Regions from separate parts of the Homo sapiens genome. Here region 2 is linked to region 1. Evidence: promoter capture Hi-C in 16 types of primary human blood cells and fetal thymus (Javierre and others, 2016). All regions are on one chromosome and are shown on one strand. The core of a region is centred on a gene start or on the middle of the fragment in contact, and the rest is flanking DNA. Distances in the headings are between cores, read along the strand shown. Region 1 holds the start of LRIG2 (leucine rich repeats and immunoglobulin like domains 2). Region 2 holds the start of CTTNBP2NL (CTTNBP2 N-terminal like).

The links. Contacts are between HindIII fragments. The CHiCAGO score rates a contact against its expected background, and 5 or more counts as called.
Region 2: the fragment with the promoter of CTTNBP2NL here is called in contact with the fragment with the promoter of LRIG2 in region 1 in 2 of 17 cell types (neutrophils and non-activated CD4 T cells); the score reaches 9.3 in neutrophils.

Annotation. Positions count from the first base shown.
Region 1 is chr1:113,070,985-113,076,667 of GRCh38, reverse strand. LRIG2 (leucine rich repeats and immunoglobulin like domains 2) reads right to left here and starts at 3,470. Exons shown (of 18, transcript NM_014813.3): 1 at 3,023-3,470. The coding sequence starts at 3,261. It overlaps LRIG2-DT (LRIG2 divergent transcript), which reads left to right and starts at 3,566. Exons shown (of 3, transcript NR_103777.1): 1 at 3,566-3,729. RefSeq lists enhancers at 2,301-2,350, 2,950-3,009, 2,626-3,157, 3,190-3,499, 3,158-3,691 and 1 more. The HindIII fragment of the contact is 20,110 bases long and covers 1-5,683 here.
Region 2 is chr1:112,393,725-112,399,407 of GRCh38, reverse strand. CTTNBP2NL (CTTNBP2 N-terminal like) reads right to left here and starts at 3,194. Exons shown (of 6, transcript NM_018704.3): 1 at 3,136-3,194. RefSeq lists a silencer at 2,947-2,996. The HindIII fragment of the contact is 10,453 bases long and covers 1-5,683 here.

The DNA.
Region 1 (5,683 bases), core at 2,221-4,720:
CAAAATTACATAAAGAAACCCAAATGTACTGGGTGGTTTTATAGCTAAAGGCAACTGCTGAAGAATGTTTCATTTCTCAATTTAAAATAGTACGGTACTATCTTTTAATATTCTAAGAGTTCTACCAATGTAAGACTTCCATCCAATTACATTTCTACAACTGAATTGTTCTCTAAGTCATTTCACTTCAACTGAAAATGTCATTTCATTATAGGACATTAAAAATTCTGAATGTCACTTGGCTCTAGGCAATTGGTCTTGATTAAACAAAAATCAAACCTTAACACAAAAATATATCTTACATAAAATTACTTCTAAATGTTTACCAACCAACGGAGAATCTTAAATGTAGGCCCGGCTGTGGCCAAGCGCAGTGGCTCGTGCCTGTAATCCTAGCACTTTGGGAGGCCAAGGTGGGCAGATCACCTGAGGTCAGGAGTTCAAGACCAGCCTGGCCAACATGGTGAAACCCCGTCTCTACTGAAAATACAAAAATTAGGTGGGCATACTGGCTCAAGTCTGTAATCCCAGCTACCTGGGAGTCTGAGGCAGGAGAATCACTGGAACCCAGGAGGCAGAGGCTGCACTGAGCCGAGATCGTGCCACTGCACTCCAGCCTGGGTGACAGAGCAAGACTCTCTCTTAAATAAAAAAAAAAAAAAAGTAGGCCAGGCCGGGCTTGGTGGCTCATGCTTGTAACCCCAGCACTTTGGGAGGCTGAGGTGGGTGGATCACCTGACATCAGGAGTTTAAGACCAGACTGGCCAACATGGTGAAACCCCACCTCTACTAAAAATATGAAAAATTAGCCAGGCATGGTAGCGCACGCCTGTAATCCCAGCTACTTGGGAGGCTGAGGCAGGAGAATCGCTTGAACCTGGGAAGCAGAGGTTGCAGGGAGCCGAGGTCACACCATTGCACTCCAGCCTGGGCAACAAGAGCGCGACTCCATCTCAAAAAAAAAAAAAAAAAAAAGTATAGGCCACATTCATTCCAATTACAGCTAAATGAAGCTGTTTTGTCAAATCTGTGCCAGACTTATTGTTATAATCAGGTAGCTCTTCCAAGAATGTCTTAGAAAAAGGCACTTGCTGCATAACAAAGAGGCTGTGCTAGGTTTAACTGACACTACACTGCACACTGATAGGAGTTTTTAAATTTGGGTCAATAAAACCAGAAGTGACTACAGGTGTCACTACCATGAAAGAGAAAGCATCTTACTACACTGCAGTTCTATGTTTACTAAAAGATTTGATTATTTATGTTAATTTTTTCAATGACTACATGAGGTAGCTTTCTTTCCTATCTGTGCTAACCTATTTGCAAATATATAAATACTTCTTAAACTCCGCAACACCTCTTATTTGTATTCTATTTCCAATAAAAATCCAAGCAGCCTCTCATATTTTAATTGCACTTCAACCTATTTTTTTAGTGATGACTCTTTTTTTTTTTGAGACAGAGTTTCACTCTTGTTGCCCAGGCTGGAGTGCAATGGCACGATCTCGGCTCACTCCAACCTCGCCCTCCCGGGTTCAAGTGATTCTCCTGCCTCAGGGTGTAGCTAGTATTACAGGCACGCGCCACCACACCCAGCTAACTTTGCATTTTTAGTAGAGATGGGGTTTCTCCATGTTGGTCAGGTTGGTCTCGAACTCCCAACCTTAGGTGATCAGCCCGCCTCAGCCTCCCAGAGTGCTGGGATTACAAGCGTGAGCCACCGCACCCGGCCCCTCTTCCTCCCCGACCCTCCCTCCCCCCAGACGGAGTCTCGCTCTGTTTTCAGGCTGGAGTGCAGTGGCGTGATCTCAGCTCACTGCAACCTCCACCTCCCGGGTTCAAGCGATTCTCCTGCCTCAGCCTCCCGAGTAGCTGGGACTACAGGCGCACACCACCACACCCAGCTAATTTTTTTGTATTTTTAGTAGAGACGGGGTTTCACCATGTTGGCCAGGATGGTCTCGATCTCTTGACCTCGTGATCGGCCCGCCTCGGCCTCCCAAAGTGCTGGGATTACAGGCGTGAGCCACCGCGCCTGGCCCATTGATGACTCTTTCTTAACGACTCCATCAGAAATCTGTCAGTTAATAAACGTGCTGCTCAGTTAGTGACGAGAAATAACTGTATGTTAGTGGTTAAGAAGCCCCATAATTGCAGCATTTAATACCTGCTGTTGTTCCTAATACCACCAGGCTGACTCAGACTAAGGAGCCCTCCAAGTTCCACTGTCTAATAAAGACCTGTCAAAGTGAAAACTCAACAGTGGAAACTCCAGAATTCATTCAACCGTTGTACCTGCTTTACCTACATAAATAAGCAGAACTGATTTTTGGGTTCTTTGCCACAAGAAGATGCGCTGAAAACAAAGCATCAAATGGTTCTGCAAAAAATACTCCTCCTCTTTACAGTGAAGTTTAAATTAGATCAAGAATGCTACTTACAAAGATATTCTGAATTACAGGATCTCCTGATTCATCATAATGAACTTTTCAACCCTGTTAAGTATCAAAACTGCAGCACAAAATCAGCCAACATGCGAACTAAGGACTAAAGACAGTTCATAGGTCTTTGGCGATTGTGATTATAAAATCACGTGCCTGAGGACCACTAAGTCTGAGGTACACACCAAATCATGCAGCTCAAGATAAGCAGAAAGCACTGTTCCGTGCTCAACCCACCCCCCGCCCCACCAACCATCCAAAGTCAATGCTGGTGCCCAGGACCCGTGAGTCCTTACCATTAAATATGCCCGCCCCATTTCCTCCCCAGTTGAGGAAATCACAGACTCCTTGGCCCCAAGAATCTTAACCCTCGTCTTCATACAATTCTCCAGAAACCTTAACACCGGCTTTTTTAGGCTCCCACCACCTAAAACAAAGTTCATAAAATCCTGACGGCAGTTTCCTTCAGAGCTTAGGCTCTCGACCACACCCTCCGACCAGGCCTGTCTCCCTCCTGCCTGCCCCCTGTAGAGGGAAGGCTCCCCCTCCTTTTGGTCACTCTGCCTGGCCGCTCTACTCACAGGATAGCGGTGTCGGGGGGCAGCAAGCCCGACAGCGCCCTCCAGCTCGGTGCGGGCAATTTCCTGCGACTGCAGTCCAGGAGAGGAATGCGGCAGGAGCAGGGCGCGGGGCAGAGACCTGCTCCGGCGGCGGGCAACAGGAGGAGAGCGGTCTGGGCAATGAAGAGTAACCGAGAAAGCACTCTAGATCGACACCCCAGCAACTGCTCCTCCGGGACGCCTAGGGGCGCCGGCGCCATTTTCCCCCTCGACCTGGACGTGGCCTAGAAGAGCTGCCTGCTAGAAAAGGAGGATCGGCGGAGAAGCTCAGCAGAGATGCTCGGTGGCTGCACTGTCTCCCGAAGCCCCGGCTGAAGGCTGTACCATCTAAAGGCATGCAAGGAGCAGACGCAGCGCGACAGCGGGGTCGACGGCCTGGGACACACGGCCTGACGGACACCTCTCGTCCGCCCCTCCCCACGGCGCAACGTCCTCACGCACAGGGGCCAGCCAATCGGTGCCATAAGATGAGGTTGCGCCCGGGGCGGAACTCAGTGAGGGGCGGGGCCAGACGCAGCCGAGTATCTTGAGGAGAAGGACTTTAAAGCGTTCAGGGATTTTAGCTGCCGCTGTGGAGTTCCGCCGCTGTTCTTCCGCTGGAGGGCGCAGTAGTTCCTTAAGAGGGAATGGTGCGGCGAATAGCTGTGAGTTCAAAGTCCTGACTACAGGTATATCTACTGTAGTAGAAAAGGATCTTTTATTTGCTCTGGGCTTTAAGAAAGGGGAGTGGCAGAAGGGCTGCCTTCCAAGTCGCACACACGAATGGGTCACGGGAGCTTCTATCCTGGCTTTGGCCAGATCGGCCTCCAGAGCCGAGCTCGAGCCTCTTCTGCCCCCTGCTGCTTGGCTGTAGCCCCTGCTCTTCTGCAAGTAGGCGGCAACTGCCATTTGCATAAGATCAATATCACTCTCTGTTAATGGCCTTGTAAGCTCCTGAAGGCAGAGGCCCTGTTTCTTCATCGGTGCACCTCCACCTTTTGTTCTAGCTTGGAGTTCAATAAATTTTGGTGGGACTGCACCTGCATGTCTATATAAAGGAAATACCCTTCTCTTTGGAGGGATGCTGTCAAGGTCACTCTCAGAAAAGCAAGCGAGACAAGAGGGTGTTGAGCAGTCAACAAAGCAAAGACTGGATGTGAGGAAATTTATTTCTCCTAAAGCAGAGGCTATGGAAAACTTACTAGGAACAGTGAAGTCTGGCCATCTTATGCTCATTCAGCCATCCAAGGTTGTAAATAAGACTTTGAGAATAATAGTGATGGTTCACTTATACGTAGTGAACTTTTCAAAGGGCGTTTGCATCTGTTATCTTGTTTGCTCCTTCAGTGACTGTGACATTGGCAAGACAATTATTGCTGATGATGCAACAAGCCCCAAGAGGTTAAACCAAGTTACTCTTGAGGCAGGGGCAGGTTCGACATTAACATGGGTTTTCTGACATAAATTGAAAATCTGAGCAGGTTAAAAAGAATGATAATGCCTAGGTTAGGGTTCTCATAGAAAGTAACTGAAAGCAATCTTTCCCATGGCAGATTATGGAGTCATAATTATGTTTTTAAAAACCTTTTTCTGTTTTTTTTTTTTAATATTGAAGTATATATTGGAAACAAGGCCATATCCAATGCTACAGTCCAAACCAAACTTTTAAAGCCAAGACAGCGGAATGAAACTTACTCTTAGCCTTCTTCCCTTAGCTGTTGAGCAGACTTAACAAACTCTGGTAAGAAATCCGGCATAGGCAGGAACCTTACAAAAAAAAAAAGGAGGCAGTTTAGTTCCTTTCTACATTATAGTTTCAGAGCTTTCCTATGAAACTATACCAAATGGGGCCATTAGAAATTAATGCTCTCTAACCTGTATCCTCCGCAGTAAGTGGCTCACTGCAATCTCTGCCTGCCGTATTCAAGCGATTCTCCTGCCTCAGCCTGCCTAGTAGCTGGGACTACAGGTGTGCACCACCATGCCCGGCTAATTTTTGTATTTTTAGTAGAGACGGGGTTTTGCCTTTTTGGCCAGGCTGGTCTCGAACTCCTGACCTCAGGTGATCCACCCACCTCGGGCTCTCAAAGTGCTGGGATTACAGGCATGAGCCACTGTGACTGGCCACAAATACACGTTTTTTTTGTTTTTTTTGTTTTTTTTGTTTTTTTTTTGAGACAAAATTTCATTATTGTTGCCCAGGCTGGAGTGCAATGGCACAATCTCGGCTCACCGCAACCTCCGCCTCCTGGATTCAAGCGATTCTCCTGCCTCAGCCTCCTGAGTAGCTGGGATTACAGTCATGCGCCACCACGCCCAGCTAATTTTGTAGTTTTAGTAGAGATGGGGTTTCTCCATGTTGGTCAGGCTGGTCTCGAACTCCCAACCTTAGGTGATCCGCCCGCCTCGGCCTCCCAGAGTGCTGGGATTTCAAGCATGAGCCACCACACCCAGCCGCAAATATGTGTTTTTTTTTTTTTTTTTTAATTTATTTTTTTATTGATAATTCTTGGGTGTTTCTCACAGAGGGGGATTTGGCAGGGTCATGGGACAATAGTGGAGGGAAGGTCAGCAGATAAACAAGTGAACAAAGGTCTCTGGTTTTCCTAGGCAGAGGACCCTGCGGCCTTCCGCAGTGTTTGT
Region 2 (5,683 bases), core at 1,945-4,444, 680 kb after region 1:
AAAAATCCATTTTAAAAGTCCCAAAGTAGATCAATAACTTGTCAAAACCAAACACTCAGAAACTATTCTTTTTTTTTTTTTTTTTTTTTGAGACAGAGTCTCGCTTTGTTTCCCAGGCCGGGGCGCAGTGGTGCAATCTCAGCTCACTGCAAACTCTGCCTCCTGGGTTCAAGCAATTCTGCTGCCTCAGCCTCCTGAGTAGCTAGGATTACAGGTGCATGCCACCACATCCAGCTAATTTTTTACATTTTTGATAAAGACGGGGTTTTATCATGTTGGCCAGGCTGGTCTCGAACTCCTGACCTCGTGATCCACCCGCCTCAGCTTCCCAAAGTGCTGGGTTTACAGATGTGAGCCACCAAGCCTGGCCTCAGAAACTATTCTTGAACAAAAATCAGCAATCAGTCCCTAGTGATCTCTCCTAAATTCACTTCATTCCTATCAGGTCAGATATTTAGAACAATAAAATCCTAAAATGATTAGCACTCATTACGTTCTTAAGTCTGGTTCAAATTTCATGACAGTAAAATAGTATTTTCTAACTAGCAGATTACATATATATTTTTTTAACTTTTTTTTTTTTTTTTTTTGTTAAGAGACAGGGTCTCTTTCTGCTGCCCAGGCTGGAGAGTGCAGTGGCATGATCATAGCTCACTGTAACCTCAAACACCTGGGCTCAAGCAAGCCTCCTGCCTCAGCCTCCCAAGTAGCAAGGATTACAGGGATGAGCCACCACACCCTGCCTCACAGATATTTCTTTATAAGAAATTCAAAATTTTAGTCACTTAAGACACTGGAATTTCATAAGACAGAAGATGGGGAAAATCAAGTTAAATGAAGACAACAAGTAGGCCGTTTATACTAACAAATTGTGCCAAATCTAATCAGTACATTGCCTTTCAGTCTACCCTAAGGTGACAGCCTCAAACTAAGTTAAACAAACACTCATGAAGTCATACTATATACTAGGAACTGTGAAAGATATAAAGATGAAAAACAAAAAATACTACTATCTGCCCTCAAAGAATTTATAATTCAAGGAGAGAGATCAGACATCTATCCTCTGCATACTATGCTTTTCTTCACCTAGCATGACCAAACAGGTGTTGAAAAGGTTAAAGGAAAGATTTTCAAGACCCAAAAGTGTAACAAACAGATCTTGCTTACTGTGCTAAATAATAAAAGAATATTATTTGCTTTTTCCTATTAAACCTCGGCAATCACAACTTTGGTTTGCTTAGTCTCTTACCTTAGTTTATTTTCTGTTCTCTGTTGATATAATACAACTTATCTTTTTGGGATTTTCTGTTCTGCTTTTAGTTTTTTCTGCTGTTATTGCTGGGAGCTCACGTCTTACCCTTCTATTGCAGCACACATTGCGTTTGCTAGAGACACCCTCCAGTTTCTTCTTTGTACTTTCTTACTGGAGATTTGGAAACAATCACTGAGAAGACCTGTGAGCACCGAGTGGCTCTGAAAACTTCAAACCTAACTATTCAAAAGTAATTATCTTTAGGAAGTCTACCTTCAGAAAGTCTAATCAAGAAGGTAAAAGACAACAGTCATTACAATCACCCTCCGTGATTCCAACTCCTTGCATTTTATTGCCATCAGCTTTGGCTATAGCTGACAGAGGGGAGGTAGACTTGAGATTGGAAGCAAAAGAAACTATGCTAAAAACATGGTAAATTTTAATATATAAAAGCGCTAGCAATAGATGATTACTGGGGATTCAACGACATTAACATGAGGTCAAAATCAACACTTTGCACCTGCTGAAATGAAGACCACTTGACAAAACCTTTAGGAGCACACTAGAAGAGGCACTTTTTGGTAAACATGAATAGCTAGAATACCTTGCCTTTATTTACTCTTATCTCTGAGATTTAAAAATTGTTCTTACTTTTCATCCTCTAAATTTTGATAGATGATCGTAAAACCAATCAAAATATACATGAATGTTTCCTGGGGGCGGGGAGGACACTATAAAAAAGGGGTTAGAGAGTTACCAAAGGACATAGGACTAGATTAATCATAAACCTAGATGACTGACCCTGAATTTTCTTCAAACACTTCCTGTCTTTTGTTTCAACCTGCAGTATACCTTCAAGGTTAACTGCAGTCTCCCTGAGCAATGGACCAGCCCACCCTAGACTGGGATATACTCATTCCTAATCCACTGCTACTTATTTACTTATGTATACTGTTTCATTTGAAAACATGGTGTTATTCATTGACTGTCAAGCAACATATACTGCATTCCTGCCCACACAAAGCCAGCTCTGCAGATATCCAACACACCCACCTCACTGTGAAATATAAGATGGCTTTTCATCAAGTTCTCAGGGAGGAAATAGGGTGGAAAAGGAAAAATGAAACGCAATTCAAACCTAAGAAACCCTTAGAGGCTGGGTGCTCCCAGAAGGAACAGAAAGTAGAAGGAAGGTACAAAGGGTGAAGGAGAGGAGGTCCTAGTTCTCCCTCTTTCACAGTCCAAAACAGTCCCAAAACAGGAGAGCTCTCGACTCCTCACAAGAGGCCAGAGGATGCGAGGGGCTGCGGGAGGAAGACTGAGCATCAGAGAATGGGGGATGGGAAGAACTTAAGTGGGAGAAGCCGCTTCCTCCGTAAAGCTGGCTGTCTAGGTCGGTCTTTGATTTTTGCTTCGCCCCATCCCTCCTTTTTGGGAAACACCAATTTTATCTTACGGAGGAAAGCAGCTCCAGTCCCACCCTGGCGAGCAGGGACAGGTGTAGGGAGGGATGTTTGGCCTTCCGGGGGTACGAAATGGGGTTGGGGGCGGCAGCCTAGAGAATCGGTACCTGTGAGTCCTCTCCGCCAAGGCTGAGGTGCGGGGTGGGAGGTGCCTTTGAATGAGGGGTGTCAGAGGGAAGCCCCTTCTGAGGAGCTGGGAATCGACGAGGGACAAAAAGTAGCTGTGAGGACCCTCGGAGGATGAGGAGCCGCCTCCTCGGGGAATACCGGGAGGTGGAGGAGACGGCCCCGCCCCCTCAGGGGATGGGCCCAGAGGCCGTTGAGACGGCGGCGGGAGGCTACCGGTGCCCCTATCCTTGCTTTGCTCTTGAGAACCCGGCCTCCCAGCCATCACCAAGCCCCAGGGATAGTTGCTCCTACCTTTCCACGACGCTCCGGGCTCCGCTCCCCTCCGCCTCCACTCCCCATCCACAGCGGCTGAGGCTCCGCCCCCTCAGCCGCCCGGCGGGGGCATTGGCATTCACCAGCGCCAATCGCCTCCTTGCTTCTCCAGCCTCGGCCCCAATCCGCGCCGGCTGGAGGCGGGGCTTCTCCAAAGTCATTCAGGCTCCTCCCGGGGCCCCAAGATCCCTTTTGTTTGGGAAGAGCAAGGCCGGGATTGAGCTCGCGTCACTTCCGGGAGGAAGCGCCCTCCTGGGTCCTGGGCTTCAGGGTGGGCTCGCGCCCCTCCCGGCTCGGGGTCTGCAACTTTCCACCTCTGCGTGAAAAGTCTGGGCAGGACCGTGACTAGTGCTTCGTGCTTTTACCTGACTGTACGCGGAGTTTAGGAATGGAGGGCTCTGGTGGCCTAATCGATTGGGATTTTATCCAGAATGTTAATAAATGAAGTGGGCTTTGGTGTCTGCATTAGAATGAATTCGTTGTTGAAAAACCTGGCTTCCTTGCTCCCTTTTTTTTTTTCTTTTTTCTGGAAGCGCCTGTGGGCGTGGTGCTGGAAGCAAGGGTGCAAAGATGAAACACCTGGAGATCACCCTTCTCTCAACCACATTTTGTACAGAAGAGGATACTAACTTTGGGGGACATAAACCCAGCCGACCTGCCTTCCAGGCGGAAGTCAAATAATTGCAAATTTGTGTGGCAGGTTTTTCCACCCTATGCTTGCCAGCTGAGGCGACTTTTTTCTTTCCTTGGCCTCATTATATTGTGGGGAATGGTGTTTGCAGTGAAGTTGAAACAATGGAGAGTACAGAGGATGCAAGGAATGTCTGCCTTGTGAACACAGGAATGCAGATCTTGGTGGCAGCAAGTCTTAGGCAGGACCAAATAACTCAGAGAGGGGAGTGGATGTATAACTAGTTGTATCCCTACCTAAGGTCAAAGTTTCTGAATTCCTTTTCCACAGAATGGCTGTCAGCTCACAGATTGATGCAGCTGGTTACATTTACAATAACCACATTATTTAAAATACAATATAATAAATATTTGAGACGAATATTCATAATGCATAAATAATGTAGTACACTTAATACATTATCCCTAAACTTAGCAATTATAATTCGCAAGACAGCATTAGGGACCTAGTGCTTGCCTAGGCAGACAGTCCCCAAGGCAGATGCAGCCTGCCTCATGCAGTTTACAGTCTGACTGAGGGATGTGATCAGTTTGTGCGATTATAGTCTGAAAGAAGTAAACAAGTATTTATCATGTTATCACTGTGCCATGTACTTTCATTTAATGGTATTTGATGTCATTTTCAGTGCTGTATGAGAAATCTATCCTACAGTGTAGGATAGACATCATTGTGTCCAATTTACAGATGAGAAGATAGAGATTCAGAGAAGTCAAATAAAGTCATAGAGCTAGTAAATGGTAAAGAATTTCCAGTAAGGATGTATGACTCCATACTTATGCCATATTCTGCTCACTTCACACTGGCTCTCACATGCTGGACTAAGAATGGGCGTGGATGATGGTAAAGCAAACATTAGAGCCAGAAGGACAGCTCTATGCCTCCCCCTGTTGATTTTAGGCTTGGGAGGGTCATCTCTGTATATGAAGGATAGCAAGACTATGAGTGAAGGTGCTCGATAGCAGTGTAAGTGAATCTGGAGTAATGATGCAGGGTATACTGAACTTCAGAAAGGCATTATGCCTTGTGTTCTGAAAACTGACAATCTGAAAGCTAAAATGAGGGGCCAGGCACAGAGTAGGTACTCAATAAATATTGACTTGAAACAAAATGTCTGAAATGATTACAAATACAGAGTGTTAGGTGCTGGAGCAGGCAAAGGAACTTGAAAAATCCCATTTCCTCCTCCTCCCTTTCGCTCTGCCTATGTGTATGCAATGAGGAAGTGCCTCATCGCCTGACAATGAAGCAGATGTGGGAGAACAAGCTATTTTCTGCTGGCTTCTGAGTCACTCTAAGAGTTGTTCTAGTGAATCAGCTCCTCCCTTGTTTTTCTTTTCTTTTTTTTTTTTTTTTTTATCGAGATGGAGTCTCGCTCTGTCTCCCAGACTGGAGTGCAATGGCGCAATCTCTCACTACAACCTCCGCCTTCTGGGTTCAAGCGATTCTCCTGCCTCAGCTTTCCGAGTAGCTGGGATTATAGGCGCCTGTCACTGTGCCCAGCTAATTTTTATATTTTTAGTAGAGATGGGGTTTTGCCATGTTGGCCAGGCTGGTCTCAAACTCCTGACCTCAGGTGATCCACCTGCTGGCCTCCCAAAGTGGCTGGGATGACAGGCGTAAACCACCATGCCCGGCAGGTCCTCCTTTCTTTCCCTCATTCCCTTTGTAGCTGTTAACCCACCACCACCCATTCTTTTCCCTGGCTGACTGGGTGGGAGCAGTGCTCTGTGACCTACTTCCTTTAGAGCAATGGGCAACTCCCCTGATTTCCTGGCTTCCCTTCTGCGTATTCCTAAATGAGTGTAGAAGGACTCAGCAAAAATGAGAACATCCCTG